Regions from separate parts of the Homo sapiens genome. Here region 1 is linked to region 2. Evidence: promoter capture Hi-C in human tissues and cell types (Jung and others, 2019). All regions are on one chromosome and are shown on one strand. The core of a region is centred on a gene start or on the middle of the fragment in contact, and the rest is flanking DNA. Distances in the headings are between cores, read along the strand shown.

What was found. Contacts are between HindIII fragments. The study calls those that stand out against the background at their distance.
Region 1: a fragment that was not itself captured here is called in contact with the fragment with the promoter of IL17D in region 2 in 2 of the 25 tissues and cell types used here (H1 embryonic stem cells and IMR-90 fibroblasts).

Annotation. Positions count from the first base shown.
Region 1 is chr13:20,935,557-20,941,457 of GRCh38, forward strand. It overlaps LINC00367 (long intergenic non-protein coding RNA 367), which reads right to left. Exons shown (of 6, transcript NR_104058.1): 5 at 4,307-4,379; 6 at 3,008-3,094. Among named protein-coding and RNA genes, the nearest start is that of LINC00367, 11 kb to the right of the region's middle. RefSeq lists an enhancer at 4,044-4,543. The HindIII fragment of the contact is 3,224 bases long and covers 893-4,116 here.
Region 2 is chr13:20,702,213-20,707,890 of GRCh38, forward strand. It overlaps IL17D (interleukin 17D), which reads left to right and starts at 1,487. Exons shown (of 2, transcript NM_001385224.1): 1 at 1,487-2,079. The coding sequence starts at 1,790. RefSeq lists silencers at 869-948, 1,369-1,508, 1,799-2,308. The HindIII fragment of the contact is 9,244 bases long and covers 1-3,926 here.

The DNA.
Region 1 (5,901 bases), core at 1,255-3,754, 230 kb after region 2:
CACGCCTATAATCTCAGCACTTTGGGAGGTGAAGGCAAGCGGATCACTTGAGGCCAGGAGTTGGAGGCCAGCCCAGGCAATGTAGCAAGAGCCTGTCTCTACAAAACCTAAAAAAAATTAGCTGGACTTTATGGCATGCACCTGTAGTCCCCAGCTACTGGGGAGGCTGAGGCAAGAGGATCACTTGAGCCTGGGAGTTTGAGGTTACAGTGAGCTATGACTGTGCCACCACACTCCAGCCTAGGCAAGAGAGTGAAAAAGGGCCGGGCGTGGTGGCTCACACCTGTAATCCCAGCACTTTGGGAGGCCGAGGCAGGTGGATCACGAGGTCAGGAGATCGAGACCATCCTGGCTAACATGGTGAAACCCCGTCTCTACTAAAAATACAAAAAATTAGCCGGGCGTGGTGGAGGGCACCTGTAGTCCCAGCTACTCAGGAGGCTGAGGCAGAAGAATGGTGTGAACCTGGGATGAGGAGCTTGCGGTGAGCCGAGATCGTGCCACTGCACTCCAGCCTGGGCAACAGAGCAAGACTCTTGTCTAAAAAAAAATAGAGAGAGTGAAAAAAATAGCCAGGTACAGTGGCTCATGCCTGTAATTTCAGCACTTTGGGAGGCCGAGGCAGGAGAATCACTTGAGGCTAGGAGGTGGAGGCCACATTGACCTATGATCGCATCACTGCACTACAGCATGGGCAGCAGAGTGATACCTTGTCTCAAAAAAAAAAAAAAAAAAAAAAAAAAAGGCCGGGCATGGTGGCTCACACCTGTAATCCCAGCATTTTGGGAGGCTGAGGCGGAAGGATCATTTGAGGTTAGGAGTTCGAAACCAGCCTGGCCAACATGGTGAAACCCTATTTCTACTAAAAATACAAAAAAAAAATTACCCAGGCGTGGTGGTGGGTGCCTGTAATCCCAGCTACTTGGGAGGCTGAGGCAGGAGAATTGCTTGAGCCCGGGAGGCAGAGGTTGCAGTTAGCTGAGATCGCACAACCATTGCACTCCAGCCTGGGTGACAGAGCAAGACTTAGTCTCAAAAAAATGTTGGACACCTTTGAGTATTAACATAGATTATCCAGGTGAAGGGCACTGAGCTTAAACTTCATCACCTCATGGTAAGTTCCCTGTGCAAAGCTGGCAGCAAGGTTCTTGTGAGTGTCCCTGCCTCTGTGGCTAATGCTAACTGACATGGGCTATGTGAGGCGACCCCTCAAATACTGGAACTTCCATAGGTGCATGTGGAGGGGCTTTTGGGAGGGTTCTGGGAGGAGTGGATCTGCCCGACATGGGTAAGCTGCCTCCATTCCCACTGTCTTCACGGTCACTCAACTGACACGCTCTTACTCACTCCCTGTTCTTCATCTCTTCCAAGGTTTCTTCCCCTGCTTGGGGGACACAGTTGTCCTAATCAACAGCTGAGGCTGAGCCCAAGTCCAACCAGGAGACAGAAGAGTTTCTGTTGGCTGGGGAGGTGAGAAGGCTGGAGAGCTGATTGCGGATCTTGCCTTTCTCGGAAAGCCCAGAGGGGTCTCTAAGGTTCCCAGACACTTCACATTTTTTGTCCAGGGCTTTTGGTTTCAGCTGCAATTCTGGAACATGGGAAAAAAGAAAATCCACATAACATTCTGTTGTACATTTATTCAAAATACAGAAAAGAAATATTTAAAGAATAAAATAAAGATAACATTCACAAGAGGAACCATGAAATTAACCCTCTCCTGGGAGTATACACTGGAAATCAATTTGGAAATATATAACAAGAGCATTAAAAATGTTCTTAAGAATATAATTAAAGATGCAGAAAAAGATTATGTACTCATGATAAAGCTTATACAAGGAAAAGAAAAAGATCATGTATAAAGATATGCAATATGATGTTATTTACAAGGTATATTTACATTTTAAATTATTTAAAATAGGAAATAACCTAAATTTCCAATAACAAGTAAATGGTTAATTAATTTGGGCTATATCATCATAATGGAATATCATATAGCCATTCAAAGCCATTGTTTTATGAGTTTTAGTGACAGGGAAAATGATTACTATAGGTGTCTGTTCACTGTGTTTTCAAAGTGTCCTAAATTTTCTTTTTTTTTTTTTTTTTGAGACGGAGTCTCGATCTGTTGCCCAGGCTGGAGTGCAGTGGCGTGATCTCGACTCACTGCAAGCTCCGCCTCCCAGGTTCATGCCATTCTCCTGCCTCAGCCTCTCCGAGTTGCTGGGACTACAGGCGCCCACCACCACACCCGGCTAATTTTTTATATTTTTAGTAGAGATGGGGTTTCACCATGGTCTCGATCTCCTGACCTCGTGATCTGCCCGCCTCCACCTCCCAAAGTGCTGGGATTACAAGCGTGAGCCACCGCACCCAGACTTTTTTTTTTTTTTTTTTTTTAATTATTTATTTATTTTTTTCTTTTTTTATTTTTTTGAGACGGAGTCTCGCTCTGTCACCCAGGCTGGAGTGCAGTGGTGTGATCATAGCTCACTGTAGCCTTGACCTCTCTGGCTCAAGAGATTCTCCTGCCTTGGCTTCCCAAGTAGCTGGGACTACAGAGGCACATCACCACATCTGGCTAATTTTTAAATTTTTTTGTAAAGACAGGGGTCTCACTTTGTTGCCCGGGCTGGTCTCAAACTTCTGGGCTCAAGTGATCATCCACACACCTCGGCCTCCCAAAGTGCTGGGATTACAGGTGTGAGCCACTGTGCCTCACCTCAATTTTGTAGGATTTTTGTAGGATTTTGATTCCAATCTTTTCTCTGCCACTTATCATTTGTGTGCCCTGAGTGAGTTCCCGTCATCTCGGTATGTCTGTTTTTCATCTGTGCAATAGGGGTCACAGTACCTACCTCATGCTGGGTTTGAGATCTCCGTGTGCCACATATTAGCTTGGGACCTTGGGCTGATTAGTTGTCCTCTCTGAGCCTCAGCTCCCAAGCCAGGAGGTGGAGCTAATGTGGCTGCCTCCAGGCATTAGCACGAAGATGGGCAGGGATGGCTCTGAGCACCCAGCACAGAGCAAGACCCCTTCACCCGGTAGACACCTGGCAGACGGGAATTACCACTGCTTATGATACAATGGTATTTCCTAAATTTGAAGATAATGTTGAAAGTAAGCTGCATCATGGATTTAATAATAGTGCTTTGAGTGAGAGAGAGAGAGAAAAAAGAAACCAATGTGGCATTCAGTGCATAAGAATAAAATGAGGTGTTGAATAAAAAGACTTGGGCCGGGCGTGGTGGCTCATGCCTGTAAATCCCAACACTTTGGGAGGCCGAGGTGGGTGGATTACCTGAGGTCAGGGGTTTGAGACCAGCCTGGCCAACATGGTGAAACCCCGTCTCTACTAAAAATATAAAAATTAGCCAAGCATGGTGGCGTGCGCCTGTAGTCCCAGCTACTCAGGAGGCTGAGACAAGAGAATCGTGTGAACCCACAAGGCGGAGGCTGCAGTGAGTCGAGATTGCCCCACTGCACTCACTCCACCCTGGGTGACAGAGTGAGACTCAAAGAAAAAAAAGTCGAATTTTTATACACATCCGTTAGGGACTTTTCACATCATGTGCATTTCCATAAATCTACACATTGTATTTTTGCACAGACTTGTGTTTCTAGGTGTGTCTGGGGCTCCAGGATTCTCTTACAGGAGACGACTGTTCAACTTGTTTTTAAATGAAAACACTAATGTTTCGTTTTATTTTTTTCCCTGCATGAAAAGTAACAATCCACCATAAAGCAAGGGGCATGCCCCCCGACCAAGCCATCCTTGCTCAGGGGTAGAGAGTAACCCTTTGCGGGGAGTGGGTGATAGTGCTAAGATTTGGGTTCTGGTTTTAAGGAGTTATCTAAAGTTTAGTTCTGAAAGAAGACGCAAAGGGGATTTCTCATGGAGGAATGCAAGCCTATGGGACAGAAGGCGATGAGTCAGGAATCGTTGGATTGGGTCACCAAAAGCCTGGGTCCTGATCCAGGATGCTTGTCCCAAAAGGGGCCCCACATACTTGATTAAGAAGGAAAGAGTGAGACCACTGTGAGGGGCAACAGTCAAGGATGGGGGGCAGAAGGGGTCTTTGAATCTGAAGCCCACCAGGGGCTGACTGTCCAGCTTTGATGTGAGCAAGAGCCCCTTTGAGGAGCTGCCCAGGCTAGTTCCTTCCACAGTGGCTCAAAGACAGGAGTGCCTGATCTGCTGCCGACTGGCTGGGAGACTGAGATTTGTTGCAGGCCAACTAGTGCATGTGACCCAGTGTCAGATATATCCCCAAAATATCCCTGGCAAGTGGCGGGATGATCTCCTACCCCTTCGCTTGAGCAGGCCGGAGGCCAGGAGCTGAGACTCCTCATTCTCCATTTCTGTTTACCTTCTCCCCAGCTGGGAACAAAGGACAAGAATTTGGGAGTGACAGGCATGTGGCCACACACTCAAATGCACTTGTTTATACCTGTTTGTTTACTGTTTCAGCAGATTCTTGCTTAGCAATAACTGAGTTTATCTCCTTGTCTTAAGGAAACTCTTAAGAATGTTATTATAATGTAGTAAAATTTAAATGTCTCTTGAATGATGAAGCACTAACTAATGTGCTATATCTAAATGTAGAAATGCACATTTACGAGTATTGTCCTCTCCCGGCATTTTCATCTGAACACTCAGTCTGTTGACAACACTCAAAAACTTCATAAAAGATCACAATCTAGCACTTAAGTTCTACAGATAATGTTGAAATCTTGCACAAGATTTAGGAATCTCAGGCAATGACATGCATAACATTGCTATTAGGAAATGTGTAATATACTCTTCTGTTACTATCAGTGGAAAGTCAAAAAACAAACAAACCATAGTGATAAGAGCTGTGTGAATTAAGGAATTTTAGAGCTGAAAGTGACCTTCGAAATCCTAGAGCCTCACCCATTTTTACCTTCTAATAATCGTGCTGTAAAATATCACACTTACACTGTAGAAAATTTGGAAATATACAGAAGATGTTTAAAATTAGGAAGAAAAGGCTGGGCACCGTGGCTCATGCCTGTAATCCCCGCACTTTCGGAGGCTGAGGTGGGCAGATCACAAGGTCAAGAGATCGAGACCAGCCTGGCCAACATGGTGAAACCCAGTCTCTACTAAAAATACAAAAAATTAGCTGGGCGTGGTGGCGCGCGCCACTGCAATCTGACCTAGCGACAGACTGAGACTCAGTCTCAAAAAAAAAAAAAAATCAGGAAGAAAAAAATCACCCACAATTGTATCACCTACAAGAGGTCACCATTTTTTAAAACTTTGCCGTATTTCCTTTCAGACATGTAAAATTTTTGATATATTTATTTTTTTCTTTTTCTTGCTACAAAAAACTGAGATCGTACAGTTTGTATCCTTCACCCTTTACTTAACATTATATAGTGATAATTTTGCTTTTTATTAAAAACTTTTTGAATATGGAATTTTTATTGATTACATAAAATGTGACAGTATGGCATAGAGTCATAAAATATTTGTAACCGTCATCATAGTATTGAATGTGTAATTGCGTTTAAAGATACTATAGTATAGATGTGCTAAGGGAAATACTTTTGTGCATAACTGTTTGTCCCATTTTTAAATTGTTTCTGTAGAAATTGTTGCCAAATTTTGTTCCAGCCAGGTGCGGTGGCTCGCACCTGTAATCCCAGTACTTTGGGAGGCCGAGGTGGGTGGATCACTTGATGTCAGGAGTTCAAGACCAGCCTGGCCAACATGGTGAAACCCTCTCTCTATTAAAAATACAAAAAATTAGCTGGGCATGGTGGTGCGTACCTGTAATCCCAGCTACTCGGGAGGCTGAGGCAGGAGAATTGCTTGAATCCAGGAGGCAGAGGTTGCAGTGAGCAGAGATCTCACCACTGCACTCTAGCCTAGGCAA
Region 2 (5,678 bases), core at 237-2,736:
CAAAACAAATATTTGCCAAGAGCTGTAAATTGCTTAAATCGCTTAAACTGGAGATTTCAGTGAGATTTTTAGCAGTAGATTACTAAGCTCCTTAGTTATAGAACATTCAATGCATAGGAAAGTGTTTTTCCTACAAAGCATAACTGAAATGTAGTTTAACTAATGGTTTACAATTCAGTCAAATACCAAAGCTGCAAACCATTTAGGGAGTCATCAATTACATATTTTGTACACTTTCAAAAAGCTTACAGCTGGGATGGGTTGTTTATTTTCAAAGCATGACTGCTTTAAAATGATCATATTCTTTAGCCTGCCACCTAGGAAGCATTAAGCATTTACTTGCAGAATGAACAAACGAGCACGTTGTCTTGTGTTATGAAGTATATAATATAGTTCGTTTTAGTTTCTTCATTCGCAGACTATCAGGCTCATTTCACGTGACTGCTTGCACTTAGAACTGAGTTATCACGGAGTAGGAACTCTCCAACATCGTCGTCATAGACCAAGAGATGCCCATGAACAGCCATGAAAGTGCCAGTCAGGGAAGTATTCAGTGCTTTGTTGTAGAGTTGTTGGATAGAGGCACAGGATCATTTCATGTTGTTGAGGAGAAAGGAGCAACAGCCTCCTCCCACCTTATTAAAAATAGAGATTTAAAAAAACCTCTAATTTCCTCGAAGTACAGAATCTCAAGAGGTAGCTCTAAGGAGAATCCCTCTGGGTTTGAGCGCATTCCTCTTCCAGGGGGCCTATTCTTGGACTGCTTTCCTTAATAGAGAAATCTCTCTGAGCCAAAATCGGCCTCCCCCAATTCCATCCTGTCGGCCCCACTTTTCTGCTTCGGAGACTTCCAAGCCAGTCCCCACTCCTCCTTCAGCCAGTCGGGCCCGCACCCGCGCCCGGCAGGGCCAGCCCTCTCCTCCTCCTGCGTGGCGCAGCACAGGCCCTGAGCGCGCGACCCCAGGCCCTGGGCGCCCCGCCGCATGCTCGCGGCTGGAAGCCCCAGTTTGCGTGGCCCTTCGGGTTATTCCGCTCAAGAGCCGCCGCGTCGCCCCATCTCGGCGCGAATCTGAAAGCGCTTTCGGGGGAGAAGATGTTGGGGGCACTGGTGAGTACACTGCACAAGTGACAAAATGTTTTCAGCTCCTGGAGGCGAAAGGTGCAGAGTCGCTCTGTGTCCGTGAGGCCGGGCGGCGACCTCGCTCAGTCGGCTTCTCGGTCCGAGTCCCCGGGTACGAGGAAAGACCACAGGGGGCTTCTCGCGGAAAAGCGGGCCGCGGACCCTGCGCGGGCTGGCTGGGGCGGGCGGATGACGAGGCGCAGGGGCAAGGGTGGGTCTGCGAGGCGGCGGGTCCGGGCGTCTTAGGCTCCGGGGCTCCCTCGCTGGCGGCGGAGCAGGGATGGCGCGCCCGGGGGTGAGGGTGCGGCGGGTCACAAGCACTCGCAGCCCGCGGCGCAGCAACCCGGCAGGCACACGCACACGTGCACGCGCGCCCCGCACCCGCCCCCCGTGCGGCCCCCGGCTCGGGGCGGCGGCGGCGGCGGGGGCCGGGGGCGCGCGGGCCGGCGCCGGGCTGGGCCCCGGGGACCCCGCGGGCGGCGGGCAGGCGGGGAGGGCGCTCTGGGGCCCGCCCGCGCGGCTCCCATCCTCCGGGCCGGCCTCTGGCTCCGCGGGGCGAGGGGAGGCGCCCGCCGGCTCCGGGCGCCGCGGGCGGGACACGGGCGCGGGGCGCAGGCGGGCTCCTCCGGCGCGTGCGGACGCTGAGCGTGGCCTGTCCCTCAGGTCTGGATGCTGGTAGCCGGCTTCCTGCTGGCGCTGCCGCCGAGCTGGGCCGCGGGCGCCCCGAGGGCGGGCAGGCGCCCCGCGCGGCCGCGGGGCTGCGCGGACCGGCCGGAGGAGCTACTGGAGCAGCTGTACGGGCGCCTGGCGGCCGGCGTGCTCAGTGCCTTCCACCACACGCTGCAGCTGGGGCCGCGTGAGCAGGCGCGCAACGCGAGCTGCCCGGCAGGGGGCAGGCCCGCCGACCGCCGCTTCCGGCCGCCCACCAACCTGCGCAGCGTGTCGCCCTGGGCCTACAGGTGAGCCGCGGGCGCGTCCTGGCGGGGCCCGGCAGGTGGGGAGGGCAGGGCTGGGCGGGGAGAGTGGGTGGGGCCGGGCCGAGGCCGGGCAGGCGGGGAGGGTGGGGCGGGGAAGGGGAGGTGGTTGGGGCGGGGCGACGCGGAGGGGGCGTGGCACGCGGGGCGAGGCGGAGCAGGTAGGGGTGGGGTGGTGCGGGGCGAGACAGGGTAGGGTACGGTAGGGTGGGGTGGGGTGCGAGGGGCGCTGCGATGAGGCGGGGTGGGGCGGGGCAGTTGGAGCACTGGGGGGCAATTCCTAAACTGCGAAGGCCCACCCCCACCACCTCCCTTGAAGGAGTCCTGCTTCCTCTCTTTACCCTCCAGTATTTCCTATGCAACACGTATCTCTTGAACACCTCATCTCCTCCAGGTTGGATGGGTCCGCAAGGCACTAGCTGGGGACCCTTCCGTGATGTGGACACAGTGATGTGGACCGTACTCTGCACAGGGGGCCCGGGGAGGTGCTGCTGGGGGGTGCGCGGTACTATCCACATATTTCCTGAGTGCCCCTGTGGTCCAGAGGCTGCTGGAGTGGAGCCCTGGGAAGCGCCCTCTGAGCCCCTCTAGTTTAATAGCCTAAGGAAGGAGTGGGGATAATTGGGAAAGAAACCACACCATCAGGCAGTGCATGAAGTGACATGAACAGTTTCGAGAGTATTTTGGTCTTGGAACAGAGGTCATTTCAGAAGAAAGGGACAGCCTGCAGAAGGGGAAGGCTGGAGAAGTTGGGGGCGTGTAGGCAGGGTGCCGCAGTGTCCTCAGCAGGCACCTGTGACCGTCTTCCCTCTAGCTGGAGCAGGAGGAGCTGCCCTAGGGGGCAAGGCCTCCCAGGGCCACAGAGGTCAAGAAAGGCTTCGTGAAAGAGCTGAGTCTTGATGGAGGAGAGCAAGTCGCCTACAAAGGCAGTGCTGAGGGAAGGGACAGCTGATAGCAAGCGGGAACAAAGCGCTTGGAAAATGGGGAGAGCCACAAGGCGAGCGGGGGCGGTGGGGGTGGGGGGGCGTAGGCGAGGTGTTTGCCTGTGGGGTGGGCATCGATGTAAGGCTGGAGACAGGTGCAGGAGCTGGATCCCCGCCTTGTCAGCAGTGCAGAGCTTCACCCTCACGCCTGGAATCCCAGCACTTTGGGAGGCCGAGGCAGGAGGATTTAAGTCCAGGAGTTCGAGACCAGCCTGGGAAACATAGCGAGATCCCATTTCTGCAAACAATTTTTAAGGATTAGCGAAGTGTGGTGGCACGTGCCTGTGGTCCCAGCTACTCCAGAGGCTTAAGTGGGAGGATAGATTGAGCCCGGGAGGTTCAGGCTGCAGTGAGCTGTGGTGGCGCCACTGCCTTCCAACCTGCGTGACAAAGCGAGACCCCGTCTCTAAAATAAAAATTAAAGAGAAAAAAAGTCTTGACACTTGAGATGGAGGAAGCCATACAGCCACTCTGGTTTAGGAGGGTGTCCCAATGGGGCATGGATTGGACAATGCTCTCCAGCACTTCCATCCAAAGGATCTAGGGCTTCACTCAGGCAGCGCGGTGGGAAGGGGAGACTAGGATCAGCGTGAAAGATGCTCATTAAAGAAGACAAGTGCTGTGGAGAGTCAGAGGAAATGTGATGATTTTGTCTAAAACGCATCTGGGCTTTCCTGGAGCCTCTCCCTGCCGGCTGCTGGGTAGGGAGATTTCCTTTTACTCAACAACACACAGGACCCCTATGCTGTCCTGGGAAGCCAAGTTTTAGGGCCTCCTGCCTCCTGGCTACTCTGCAGAGGACCAAGCTCACTGTGGCAGAGCCCCCTCAGAGCCCCTGCCCACGGGGAAGTTGGGTGGGACCCCTCCCGCCCTTCTCACTCCTGTCCTTCAGCTGGAGCCTGCAGGGCACACACATGGCGCCATTCATTCTGGTATCTTGGTGCTCTTGCTTTTCCTCTCTCTTCCTCCATTTCCAGGACCTGAAGGGATGGACTACGGCATTCTTCTTTCTCTAACCTCGTGTTATGCTTCTGATATACCAAATAGGATTAAAGCCACATAAGGAATCTCTCAGAACCAGAGATTAACTTCTCTGGACAGAAGCTGCTGGCCCTGCTTTCTATAGCAGATTCGAACTCTCAGGCAAACCCGTGGCTCCCCACAGGCTGGGCCAAGGGCCTAAGAGTAGTATATAGCCTCCCAAAGGCATGTCTCTCATGTTTCTGGCTTGGGTTGTTGATGGTATTTGAGCAAAATGAGAAAATACACTTAGGAACAAGTGTTGTGGGAGGAAATAATGAATTTAGTAACAAGCCTGTTGAGTTTTGCCTGCCTGAAAGGCGTACAGGTGACAATGACTGGTTGGAGCTCAGGAGACAGAGCAGGGCTGGAGGACACATGGAGAGTTAGCAGCACTGGCATTCTGTGTGTGGGAAGTTAAATTGAGTTGCCCTTGCTACAGATGACACCTATGTCGCCCCAGGCAGGATCTGGGAGCCGAGGGAGGTTATGGATGAGAATGACACACAGGGTTCGGGGATCGTGGTCTGGGCCACCCAGATCTGCCCACATGTGGAACCTCAGTGCTGGGTGGTCCCAGGAGCAGGAGTGGCAGCTGCAGCAGGGTGGCTGAAGGTGTCATGTGCATCATTTTTCATATTATTTAGCAACAGTGATGAGATCACTCCCCATGGGCAAACGGAGGTGGGTGGCTTATATTTGCTGAAGGAAGGACAGTCTTCAGGGGATGGCTGCTGGGCTGGGACTCCAGATTGCTGACTGCCAAAGCTGCTCCTGCATTTTCCTGCCAGGAGAGCCCTCTCTGCCCTCCTCCCTCCAATCACCTCTCACCATCTTTTGGGTTATTGGGAAGATTAGAAAAAGTGAGACCCAGCCAGGCCCAGTGGCTCACCTGTAAATCCCCGGCTACTCAGGAGGCGGAGGTGGGAGGATCACTTGAGCCCAGGAGTTTGAGACCAGCCTGGGCAACATAGTATGAGACTTATCACTACAAAAAAAACAGCCAGGTGTGGTCATGTTTGCCTGTGGTCCCAGCTACTTGGGAAGTTTGAGCCAGGGAGGCTGAGGCTGTAGTGAACTATGATTGTGCCTCTGCACTCCGGCCTGGGCAACAGAGTGAGAACTTGTCTCAAAAAAAAAAAAAAAAAAAAAAAAAGGAAAAGAAATAGTGAGCCAATGGAAGTGTGGAGCCTCTACTAAAAGATGTTGTGGAAGGACAGGTTTTTTCTTTTAGACAGAATCTCGCTCTGCCACCCAGCCTGGAGTGCAGTGACACAGACAGATCAATGCAGCCTTGACCTTCTAGGCTCAAGGGATCCTCCTACCTCAGCCTCCCATGTAGCTGAGACCACAGGTGCGCACCACCACATGCAGCTAGTTTTTTTGTTTTGTTTTTTAGAGATGGGGGCCTCACTTTGTTGCCCAGGTTCGTCTTGAAGTCCTGGGCTCCAGTGACCCTCCTGTCTCAGCCTCTCATAGTGCTGGGATTACAGGCGTAAGCCATGGTGCCAGGCCAGGGCTTGTTCCTTGGTGGAGTGTCTGAGGGTGGGGCCTGGGTAGAGGAGTGCCCACCTGCAGGCT